Linked DNA regions of Homo sapiens: region 1 is linked to region 2. The links are contacts of gene promoters, found by promoter capture Hi-C in blood cells and fetal thymus (Javierre and others, 2016). All regions are on one chromosome and are shown on one strand. Each heading gives the region's core, a stretch centred on a gene start or on the middle of the fragment in contact. The rest is flanking DNA. Distances are from core to core; before and after follow the strand shown. Region 1 overlaps ZNF664-RFLNA (ZNF664-RFLNA readthrough). Region 2 holds the start of DNAH10 (dynein axonemal heavy chain 10).

Region 1 (6,186 bases), core at 177-2,676, 220 kb after region 2:
AGCAGACCCCTGTCCCAAAGATGATGAACTCTGCCACTTAGGTTAACAATACAACAGTTCATAGAAATAATTGGAACCATTTTTCTTCTGCAGAGTAAATCCTGTATGTCCCTCTGGCTTTCAAAATATCACTTTTGGATGTGTAGTTCAAATATGTTTAGGATTGAGCCTGATGGGGGTTTAAGAATATTTCATTGATTCAAAGTACTCGGTGTTGGCTAGAAAACATGTCAAGTTTCTCAGTTAACCGATGTTCAATAAATTACTTTTAATACTATAACTTTACATTGTGATAGGACTAGGACCTTGTGGTAAGCCTCCAGACTCACAGTTAGAATCAGAGAACCTGCACAAAGCGGGTTGCATGCATTTTCATGATGCTTGGCAACTAGAGGTAGTAACCCATTGTGACATTGATTTCAAGTCCTAACTCCTTAGTGTGAAGAGCCGAGGTTTCTGAGCAGGTGTTTGAGTGCCCTCTGGAGGCCTTGTGAACAGTTGAAATGTGGACTCCTAGCAAAGCTTTCTTTCACAGCCAGAGTTGAGAACCAGTGGGCGAGATGGTTGAAACTGGTGTGGATGTTAGGAGCAGAGGAGAGGGGAGATGGAACTCATGGGAATGAACTAGTGTTTACAAGAGCTTGCCCGGCCAACTGATAATACTGGGTTTATGCAGTGAGTGTAGAACACAGAGGCCGTAGGGTCACAGAAGGAGCCAAGGGAGTGTGGCCAGTAATGTCCAGTGGGATAAAGAACAAAAAGTGCCCTTGGATTGGCCAAGAGAAGGCCGACAATGAGAGAGGAACCTCGGTGGTGTGGTGTTGGATTGAGGCATGAGTGGGAAGTGAAGCAATAGAAATCTGGAAAAATCAGTCTTTAAGAGGTCTGGATGGGGAAATGGAGGGTGGGGCCAGGGAGACAGGGTAGCTAGAGAAGGCCTGGGATTAAATGCTGTTTTTCCTTAAGGTTGGGGGAGACTTCTGCATTGTGTTTAAATGCTGAAGGGAAGAAACAAGCACAGAAAGAAAACAGTTGAAAGGGGTGTGGGGGCCGGGGAGGAGGAGAGAGTTGGTTTCAAAGTTCTTTGCCTGGGAGATCTGTTGAGGGAAGAAGTTGCCTTTTATAGGGACTTTGAGTTTGTCAAAGTAGTGATTTTCAGTTTATCGTGGGATGATGGGGAAATAATTCTAGTAGGCAGTTGGAGATACAGGTAAGAAGAAAAGACTGTGTTAAGAAACTGTGGCATCATCATCATGGAAATGGTCATCATTCCAGCCAAGCAGGTAGTTGAGCTAAAAAATGGAGACAGGACATACTGTATGGAGGACTCCTATATTTAGGCATAGGCATGTGAGATGGCAGACACAATCAGCAAGGCCAGAGGAAAAGTGAGAATGTGCAGGGAACTGGGAGCCGAGGAGACCGTAGACTAGGATTCAGGGTGAGGCAGGAGGAACGGCCCCAAGATTTGACTCTGAGAGCAGTTTTGTAGTGGGGGTGGGGGTACAGAATGGTGTGTGGGAGGTGCACACAGAAGGTATTATAGATGCTGTGGAGGAGCTCAGTAGTGAAAGTGAGAAGAGTGAATTGGTCTTAGTCGGGGGATGGCTCCAGAGAACACATGTCACTTATCTGTGCATATGAAATTAGAGCTGTAATCAACAATGACTCTAGAAAGGATTATTTTTGCTTTTTTGTTTTTAACACCATCATCTCAGAATATAAGATCTAAGTTTCATGTAACTTTTGTGCCACTTCCTACTCTTCTCAGATTGAGAATCTGACCAGAAGGAAGAAAATGTCTAGGTCTATTCATGACATTTGAGGGAGTTCTTGCAGGAGAGAGTAAATGTGACTGATTTTTGATTTACTATTCTGACACACGTCAAATGTTAAATCCTTTAAATCTATGAGACCATTTGCTATCATAAATGACATTTTAAAAAACTTCTTGGTAAAACTAATAGTATGGCTAATAGAAGTTATTTGGCTTCACTTATTTAAAATATTTCGTTAAGAAAAGATAACAGATTCCTAATATCAGAAGTGGTAAAATAACTGTGTTTAAATCTGGGAGGTGGGATTTGACCTCTCACTTTAGACTGAGTGCCCAGTTTGAGCGGCCAGGCGTACAGTTTAAGCATACACTTATCCAAGGGGTGGAATGGCAGGTTCCAGCTTAGGCCCAAACACGTCCGCTGCTGTGGGACTGGTGCGAAGATCTGTGAAGGCCTTAAGCCATTAAACTTTTGGAGGCCTTTACTATGTCATATCAAACATTAAATCACCCATGTCCCACATAAAATTAGCTTGTACAAAACCATATGAGTTAAGCTTTGATTGGCTATAGACATTTAACATTTATTAACTTTAATTTTGCAATTTTCTTTTCATGTTTTGCATCCAGTAATGTTTTTTTTCAGATCTGAAACATTTACATAGGTCTTCGAGATGCTCATGAGCCTTAGGGACTGTGCCTATATACCTAGAGATAAGACATCCCAGTTCTGCTGGGAAGTGGACATTGGGTATGTCTAGGCATGTCTGGCGGGGGGCTGGAGGGGGTGGGCTTGCCCAGAATCTGTTTGTTTGTGGCACTGAGGCACCTCCTGGGAAAACTTCATCTTAAGGGGGAGTTGAAGGAAGTGTTTTAGTTAGGGATTTTTTGTTGCAAAGAACAGAGTTTCATTCAGACCACTTTCTGTACAAGGGGCTATATTGGAGGATGCATGTGGATCAGACCCATGAGGAACTCAGGCTGTCCAGAGACAAGCCACAGTCTTCCCATGGACAGTGAGGTCTCTCACGGCATCACTCATTTCTTTGTGTCTTTCTCCTCTTGCTGCCATCTGGCTTGTTTTTCCCTCCTCTGTATGTCTTTTCTAACCTTTTAGCTCCTCCTTGCTTATAGATTCTACTTCCTCATGAGTTTGGTTTGCTGTGATTTGATGACCTCCGCAGTCATTTTGCGGATCATAACCTCTCAGCTTCATCTCTCACAGCTGATAACCTCATTCTCTCAGTATTGCTTAGATTCCTGAGAGAGAGGGAATCTGATTTTGTTTTGCTTTTATTGTTGTTCCAAGCCACATCATATGTCAGAGTTAAGCTCTTGGGTCAGATGTCTGCACTTGGTCTCAGAAGTGGTCATGTGGCCGATGGCTGCCTGGGCCTACCCTTAAAGCTGAAGCAGTTCCCATTAGTAGGATTTGTAGGCTAGCAGGCACCATGATTGGCATGTATAGTTCAGTAAGGGAGGAAAAAACCTGGCCCAATATCAAGACCACTTGAAATTCCTCCAAATGTATTCCTGCCCTTTAAAATATTATCCTGCTAACAGCTTTCATTCTAAGTTGAACCTTTATTCCCACAGAGAAACTAAAATAGCTAAATGTGTTGAAAGCATTTTCACTTTTCCATTTTCTTCCTGTTTTATTCAGTCTCTGACAGTGCAGGGCCACTCAGCATAGTCTACAGGACTCTATTTCTAATGTTAGTGATTTCTGCTGAAAATGATATAGCAACTTCAGATAGCTATTAGCAAGATGGATCATTCTAACCACATGCCTTTCACATAATCCTTTCCCCCAAAGCTCTGGGGAGCTGTAGAGGCATACTGTAATCCAGCACTGTCCCCAGATTGACAACAGCTAGAAAAACATGTAAATGTCCCATCCACATGTAGATACGGCAGCAGTGTGAACCTAAGTTCCTTAATATATCATAACTCCCAGGGGAAAGTGAAGTTCCCCAAACTTAAAGCTAGATCTTGAGATCTATACCTAAACTTCTCTGAACAATTATAGAATATAGCAGAGGCGGGGAGGTAGTAGATGGAATAAATAAAATAATGATAATGATAGCTTTGTTGAGCCCTTGAAATTTGCCAGGCAGTGTTTTAAGTACTTCTCATGGATTAATTGATTTAATCCTTAAATTACCTTATCAGATCAGCTGCCTTTATTATCTCCATTAACTCATTCTTAACCTCCTAGGTGAAGGTTACACAGCAGGTATGCAGTAGGGCCAGGACATGAACTCACCCAGTCTGACTCCAGTTTGTGCTTCTTCAGTACCCTGAGAGACTGGAAAATCCGTGAAAAAACACTATTGATTGTTTATTCCCTGGCATTTTAGCCAGTCTGAGTCAGTTATCTTATACCTATGAACCTTAAACTCATTTTGGATCTGGTTCCCATCACGAGGCTAATTGTGATAATGGGATACCTATATCTTGGAGGGAAGTTGTGCAGAGTGCCTGGATTTTCCTTTCTGTGGTTTCTCAGATTTGCTCATCCCTTCTTTGGACCTCCATGCCTTGAATCCCATATATTTATATAAATCCCAGATGTAAATAGGTCTGTCCTATCTTCTGAGCTGGGACCCCACGTTTATAGTAGCTAGTTCATGAAAACATTTTGTGATCCTAAATTCTCTATAAATAAACCCATTTTTCTCTTTGCATTTCTCCCATCCAGCAGGATCCTAAGGCCTTTGTAGTCCTTCAGCCACTGTGGGCCCTGCCTCTGCCTGTTCTTCTGGAATGTCTTGGGGGTTTTGATCCTGTCACTGTGGTAAGTTTTCCCCTTGTTTCACCATTTGTCCTAGATGGAGAATCCCCCTTGAGTATTTTAAGCCAAAGCTGTCTCTAGAATTTTTTCTGAGCATGTGCCCTTTGGGCTCAGTGAGGAAGCAGCTCTCCGTGCACGCTCTTCCTGACCTCTCGCCTTTATCTGGCATTGGATTCCCCAGATCTTGGACCACCTTCCTTACTCTAAAGATGTCAGAAACATTTTTGTCCAACTCTTTTTGTTCCCTGGGATCTTCATTTTCTTCTTTCCATGTGAACCATTGGTTATTAAAACTTTGTTTCAGTTGTCCCATTTTCTTCTGCCATCTTGGAGGCCTTACATGGATTCTAGATCTCATGCCACCCTTTGTCTTTTTCTTCTGTTGTTCCTATCCTCACCGAGCTATCAAAACTTTTTAAAAGCTCGGTTGCTTTGTAAATTTCTGGTGTTTTTTTTTTCCCCAACGTCTGAATAATAGCTTTTTCCTTAAATATGAGTTCCTGAAAATCTTCTTACCTGAGGATTATGGTTTCACATTGATCTGTGCAGACTTGATTCTGAGTGTCATTGTGTTCCCAGCACAACTATTTTTTTACTTTGTTTTCTCTTTGGATTTGTTCTTTTTTAAAGATTTTTTTTTCCCTTCTTTGGCTCAACTCAAGAAGGCAACATATATAGGACAGGTATTTGTTTATCTTTATTTGGTCATTGCTGAAATCCAGAATACTCCAGTTGAGCATACAGTCTAGATCTCTGTGATTCACAGACATCATGAAATTGTATGTTATTTCCATGCATAGCTGGGCAGGAAGAGAAAGGAAAGCCCTTGTCTTGATAGCTGCTGGCTTCTGGGGGCATGAGCTTCTTGTCATTTCCCCTGCTGCCAGAGGCTGGTTTCTCAGGCCCTGGGCTTCTGCCTTCCCAGACTTCACTTTCCCATGCAACAAGGAGGATTGGCTGTGGGAGGTAAAGGATATTGTGTTGGCCTCTGTCCTAGTGGGTCTAGTGACTGTGCGTTGTTAGAAGGCTAAGCCTATGTAGATGTGTGATGTCTTTTCTTTTTCCTGGCTGTATGTGGCTAGAGTGGTAAGGCTGGGGCTGCCCCTGAACGGAAAGGTCTTGACCACCTCTCTTCCTTTTCTCTCTTTTCCCATGTGCTGGATTGGTTTCCAGGTGACTGACCTATTTAGAAGTGGGGGCAAGTGGACCCTGGCACAAGGGCAAATGTTCTCTCTTCTCTCTCTCTTTCTGGCTGCATTATCTCCTGTGCTGATTTGGGTAACCTCGGCCAGTCTTTATCGTGAGTGGTAAGACCAAAGAGTCATGTCTAATATTTTATGAATTCCTTTTCATTCCCGTATGCGCTTTGGTCCCAGTTTAAGATTGCCACTAATGTAGGGAAAAGGAGTTCTCCATGTGATCCAGCCTACCTTATGGAATGCTGCATTGGAAATTGGATTCACAGGCCCAGCTAATAATGAAGTGTTCTGTATTTTCAGTTCAGTCCTGTGTACATGTCCATCTAGGGTACCTAGAAGTTAGGGGTGTTTGCTGAGCCCACTGGCCAGATTTGCTATTAGCCATTAATAACATACATTTTCAGAACAGTACTGGA
Region 2 (6,164 bases), core at 3,415-5,914:
CCTCCAGTGACTCAAGTGGCAGGAGAGGGTCTCGTTACTTGTGCACGTGCTTTTGTGTGTTGGGCAGTGAGAGACAGCGGATGTGTCAGAGTTTCTGTTCACACTGGGAAAGCCAGCACGGGGTTGGGGGTGCGGGGCAGTGTTTAGCTAAGTAAAAATATATGTGCCAAGAACATATTTTGGAATGAAGCAATTTCAGCACAGGAATTTTTTTTTTTAACTTATAAATGTTGTTTTAAGGAATGTGATTTCATAATCTTCCATTAATACATGGCTTTTTTTTTTTTTAGGGTAGAATTTCAGAACAAATTCTACGTTGGTGCAGGCACCAAATTTGTTCCTTTCTCATTCAGTCTACTTTCATCAAAGTTCAATAACGACGACAGTGTGGCATGATCATATTGCTGTAACCAACAAGCTTTCAGATTTATGGAGAATGACCATGTTATAGACTTTCACTTATGTCAGATTTATGATAGGAAAAATTCCATCTTCATTACTGCCTTATGACATAGCCAAATAATTCTGTAAGATATACCTCTTCCTCATATGTTAAATATTTTGTAAAGTTTACCAATTTGAGATATAAAAATTTCTTTTGGTTTTTTATGATGAGCAAATATAAGTTAATGCCAAACGTTATGTTAAAGTTATTTTTTCAAATACAGGATTTGGGGAGAGAAGCCAATTTTGCATGGCTAGTTGAAAATGGTATTAGATACTTATTTCCTTTAAACTTTATTTAAAACAAACAACAGAGTTAATCTGTCACCTGAAGTTGCCAGATAATATTTTCCAACAGCTGAAGTAGGGATAGTTTTTTAAAAAATTTAATGATGGGTAATCAAAACATTCACATTTATTCTGCTGGATTTAAAAATATGTACTTTTTTTTTTTTTTTGAGATGAAGTCTTGCTGTGTCACGTAGGCTGGAGTGCAATGGCACGATCGTGTCTCATTGCAACTTCCGCCTCCTGGATTCAGGTGATTCTCCTGTCTCAGCCTCCCGAGTAACTGGGATTACAGGCATGCGCCACCGTGACCAGCTAATTTTTTTGTATTTTTGTAGAGATGGGGTTTCACCATGTTGGCCAGGCTGGTCTCGAACTTCTGACCTCAAGTGATCCACCTGCCTCGGCCTCCCTAAGTGCTGGGATTACAGGCGTGAGCCACCATGCCTGGCCAAAATATGCAAATATTTTTTATCCTGTGCTACCTAGAATTACAAGTAGAGGATTGTTTTTACAATTTTGTCTTGTTTTAGTAATTGGGGACAATGGGATAAAATGACATACAACAAATGGTTATCCCACTTGTATATTTTTTTAAAGACTCTTATCCTGTTACCCTTACATAAAACCAGTTATGATAATTGTATGTTTGGAAGATAAATTGTATGCTGAGCCTTAAAACCCAGTGTGACTGTAGAAGATATAATGCGGACATGATTTGAATTTAGTGACAGCTTGGCTGATGTCACTGAACCAGAAGGGTTTATACTGAGTGAAGGAAAGGTAAAAAGTAGTATTTTGTATATTTTTGTAACAAAATATAAATGAAGATATTTTACCATGAAGAGATTGCACTTATCCTTGAGAACAGTCTAAATATAAATGAAGATATTTTACCATGAAGAGATTGCACTTATCCTTGAGAACAGTCTAATGATACTTTTTTTACTTTCAGACTGTTTCTAGCTAAAGTTCTGATAAAAGTATTGAGTTAATTTAAACTTTCAAACACTGTTTAGATCAGTTGAAAACTAATTCTTAATAGCCATTGTTTTATAATCTTTAGTTTAAATTCATCTGTTTGACATTTGGTTTTTTGTGAACTTGAGTCAGTCCTATTGAACATTTTGACCTATATTCTTGCAAATTATGTTAATTTTTCATATTTTAGTTTGATTTTAGACAATTATTTTCAAAAAGAAACCTGACTTTTTTTCACCTTCTTGACATTGTGAGTGATACACGTTAAAAGGCTATTTGCCCGCATCCTCCTCTATCCTGTTTCGAGGTAGAGAGCTTGGCACTTCTGTTACAAGCTGAGAGTCTGGAGGTGCTGAGTTTAACGTGGCTGTGCAGCTGATTTCAAGGCATGAGCTGAACAGCGTTGACACAGCCGTGACTTACAATTAAACCCTTTCAATTACAGTACAGATTCTGTGTGCTACTTGATGAGATGTTACCCAAGGCCAGTTTGGACTTACTGCTTTTTGTCCCTCATATTAAATTATCAAATGATGCCGATGAAATGCTTGAAAATGATTCTGCTCTCAAAGTTATGCTTCCCTAGAAAGGTGTCATGTCGGGCACTTGTGTTGGGTGACTATGACATCCCAGCAGTGCTGGTCAGGTCTCAGAGTTGCTTTCACCTAGAGCTGATGCTTCCACAAGGGGACATTTGTGTTACTTTGCTCCAGGGGTCTGTCATAAAAACAATGGTAACTACTTCATCCCTAGGAAGCCCAAGACTTCAGGGCACTGTTAGCTGATTGGTAAATAAGGGACACGATATTCACGGGAATTGTTTACTGCTCCCCACTAGTAATTCTCATGGGGCCACTTTTTTAACTCTTTCTAATTAACACCTCTTCTCAGCATAGAGCAGAGGATGCAGTCATTTCTCTGTTGAAATCTATGTAGTATTTATGTAGAATGTCATTATATGAAAAGCGAATTCAGAATCCTAACTCTGGGAAAGCGCTCTCTGGAAATGTAGTTTGATAATAGTGTCTTATAGGGGCCACGGGAATTTGTTTCTCTATAAAGCGATGGGCTCCAGTGTCATGTTACCAGAGTTATCGCTCAGTTTTGTTTGTTAAGGCTTTTGCTAGAACCTATTATGTATCCAGTTTTTAAAACATACTTCATTCCCTTGATAGCAGAGATCCAGAGCACAGATGGCAAGTTGTGTGGATGATACTGAATATGTTTATTTTCCTAAAGATAAATGTCACGACACGACATTTCTCAGTTTTTATTTAGATGTTTATTACCATGTGTTAACAGAATCTTAAAACCCAAGGGATTTCTTCAGTAAACTAGACTTTGATTCAACCTGCTGGGCTGGAGACTGTAATTGCCGTGGTCAGTTAAGGAGTGCAAAGGGTGTTCTGTCTGATAGGATCTGGGTGAGCCCTGCGGACTTTCCAGCAGCGAAAGGACTTGGAACTCCTCTTTCGCTGAATGCTGCTCTGTTTCTGGAATGGATATTTTATAACAACATTCTGGTGTCAGCATCCCCTCAGCAGTTGTTTATTTAAAAATTTTTTTATTTTTTTTGAGACAGTGTCTCACTCTGTCACCTAGGCTGAAGTGCAGTGGTGCAGTCTCGGCTCACTGCAACCTCTGCCTCCTGGGTTTAAGCAATTCTCCTGCCCTAGCCTCCCGAGTAGCTGGGATTACAGGCGCCTGCCACAGTGCCCGGCTAATTTTTGTATTTTTAGTAGAGACAGGGTTTCACCATGTTGGCCAGGCTGGTCTCAAACTCCTGACCTCAGGTGATCTACCCACCTTGGCCTCCCAAAGTGCTGGGATTACAGGCGTGAGCCACCGCGCCTGGCCCTCTGCAGTTGTTTAATAAGGCACAGAATACCTGTAGCATAGGTCAGCCTTACGATGTCCATGAATTACATATTCAGACGTTTTAGAGCCTGATACATTTTGGAAAAGAAAAACAACTTCTACACCTATTCTACAGTCCGCATTTAAAACAATAAATTCCTCTATTAAAAACGTAAAGCCGGGTTTGCTTGCGTGCCACAGGGAATATATCCAGGAAGGTTATTATGAAGCTGTCAAATCAAGATGATGGGAATAAGGCAGTTTGAACGAACAGTCTTCCCACAGTCAGGCCATTTTTGCTGATTTGGTTTAGAATTTTCAGAAATACTTAGTACACTCCACCTGTTCTTTGATGGGAATATCTAAGAAGGCTAGGTAGGTTCTTAGGGTTAGCCTGAGTCATCTAGGGGCTCAACTCCTTGTGAGGGGAAATGACAGTGAACAAGTTAGTACTTTGCTCCACAAATGCATGAAAGGACAAATTTGCATCTTCTATCAGTATTTAACTTCCTTTTGCTAATGACAAATAAATATATCTATATTTTTAAACGTGGGTGTTTTGCTTTATTATGCTCTAGTTTGGCAAGAAAGCTAAAGAACTCTGCTCCTTCCCTGATTTTGTAGGCCATGAGGAACTCGTGCTTTCTCGGCTTATTTCCTCCTCGTCTGGCCTCTAATCCCGCCTCTGCCACCGCCGAGGTGCTGTGACCTTCGTCTCGCCAACTCTCTAGCCCCAGCTTCATCTGCAAGGTGGGCGGGCTGCTTGCAAACCGGTCGGCGTGGGGTGGGGTCGCACCCTCGGCTGCAGCGGCCCGAGGGCGGCTCCTGGCGGCGAGGGTCCCGCTCCGCATCCAGGGGCGTGCGCGCTGCCGGGGCCAGGGAGCAACCAGCCTACCTCGGCGGCCCGGGGGCCTGGTGCGCGCCTCCGAGATCCCGGGGCCGGGGCGTGGGCTGCGGCTCGCGGGTTCGGGATCGAGGGGCCGGGCGCGGGGCACTGCCGAGCTTGCAGCCCCCAGCGCCGGCGCCGTCGGCGGGGCGAGCTGCGGCCGTTTCCGGGGCGCCCATTGCTAGGGCCGCCGTTGCCACGGACGCCCGCCCTGCGCCCGGCTCCCTCTGCACTGCGCGGCGCCATGGACGACCTGCGGGTGCTGTGGATGCGCGACCGCGTGTATGCGGCTTTCGGCATCACCGACCCCCAGCTTTTCGAGGACCTGCTCAACCGCGACGACGGCCAGGGCGAGGACCTCATCTTGCACTTCCTCAACCAGGCGAGCGAGGAGGAGGGGCCCTCGGCGCTCTTCATCTACCGCACTATGGTGCCGGAGGAGGTGGAGGTGGAGATTGGTGAGCCTCGACGCGCCGCTCCCTTCCCCGGGCTTCCCTCCTGCCCGTCCCGGCCTCTCCGGCGGGCGCCGGGGCTGCTAGAGCCTGCCCATCGTCCGGCCCCGGCCTCAGGTGCTGTCCACAAACGCTGCCGCCCGCCACGTGCAGGCCCCGGGCGAACCCAGCAATCACAGCCGTCCCTGCCCTCCTGGGCCCACAGCCCACTTGAAAGTCAGGCCTTGATTGAAAAATCACAGCAAACACTGACTTAGCCCGCACCCCGTGCCAGGTGCGGTTCCAACGCTTGTATCAACTCCTTAACCCTACGAGGCGGGTGTATCCTCATCCCTATTTTACAGATGAGCAAACTGGCACGGAGGGGGTTAAGTAACCTGCCCAAGGCCCACGGGGCGTCAAGATCCACTGTGCAATAATCCGAACGGCTGGGTAGAGCCATGCCCAGGTGTGGCAGGGACCCAGGTCACTGTCACTCTCCTTGACGGTCGCAGCCTCTCACGGAGGGTCCGAAGAGCACCCCTTTCTACTTCTGGAGGCTCCTTATATCCTAAAAAGTAAAATAAGGCTAGGACAAAGTTTAAAAACTACAGTAGACTTTAAATGTTTATGTTGAACAAATTAGCATCGCAAATACAAAAAGACAGTGACCAGGGTCCCAGAACCCTCTGTGGAGGCGGATCCCCAGCCCCACCTACTCTCTGATAGGCCAGGGACACTGAGAGGGCAGGGAGGGGCCAGCACAGGTGAGAGGAGGAGGCAGGACAACTCGCTTCAGAAACAGCTAGAAGGAGACTGGGACCTCGAAAGCCGCCTCCTCGCAGGAGCACCAGCTGGAGCACAGCTACCGGGACCTCCTGCCTGGCTGTCCAGTCTCCTGGGCTACTTTTCCAGCCCCTTAAGGACTTGGGGATCCCTTGCAGGGCCTCTCACTGGGTTCGGGTGGCAGGGCCGGCAGACCTTTGATTTTTTTTTTAAAGGTACCAGGCAGATTCATTTATTGTATTCTATTTTTTAACTTTTTTTTTTTTTTTTTTGAGATAGGGTCTCACTTTGTCACCCAGGCTGGAGTGCAGTGGTGCGATCTTGACTCACTGCAACCTCTGCCTCCAGGGCTCAAGTGATTCTCCCACCTCAGCTTCCTGAGTAGCTGGGACTACAGGTATGCGTCACCATGCCTGGCTAATTTTTATATTTTTGGTAGAGACAGGTTTCACCATGTTGCCCAGGGTGGTCTCAAACTACTGAGGTCAAGT

Evidence for each region. The method cuts DNA at HindIII sites, captures the fragments that hold promoters and counts their contacts. A CHiCAGO score of 5 or more calls a contact.
Region 1: a fragment that was not itself captured here is called in contact with the fragment with the promoter of DNAH10 in region 2 in 4 of 17 cell types (megakaryocytes, M2 macrophages, M1 macrophages and 1 more); the score reaches 8.8 in megakaryocytes.

What each region holds. Positions count from the first base shown.
Region 1 is chr12:123,983,565-123,989,750 of GRCh38, forward strand. The region is part of intron 2 of ZNF664-RFLNA (ZNF664-RFLNA readthrough); the gene reads left to right. ZNF664 (zinc finger protein 664) reads left to right here. Exons shown (of 5, transcript NM_152437.3): 3 at 4,479-4,574. Among named protein-coding and RNA genes, the nearest start is that of ZNF664-RFLNA, 13 kb to the left of the region's middle. RefSeq lists a silencer at 449-508 and an enhancer at 699-768. The HindIII fragment of the contact is 1,812 bases long and covers 521-2,332 here.
Region 2 is chr12:123,757,637-123,763,800 of GRCh38, forward strand. DNAH10 (dynein axonemal heavy chain 10) reads left to right here and starts at 4,665. Exons shown (of 79, transcript NM_001372106.1): 1 at 4,665-4,914. The coding sequence starts at 4,701. ATP6V0A2 (ATPase H+ transporting V0 subunit a2) reads left to right here. Exons shown (of 20, transcript NM_012463.4): 20 at 291-4,119. The coding sequence ends at 396. RefSeq lists a silencer at 4,246-4,665. The HindIII fragment of the contact is 13,934 bases long and covers 417-6,164 here.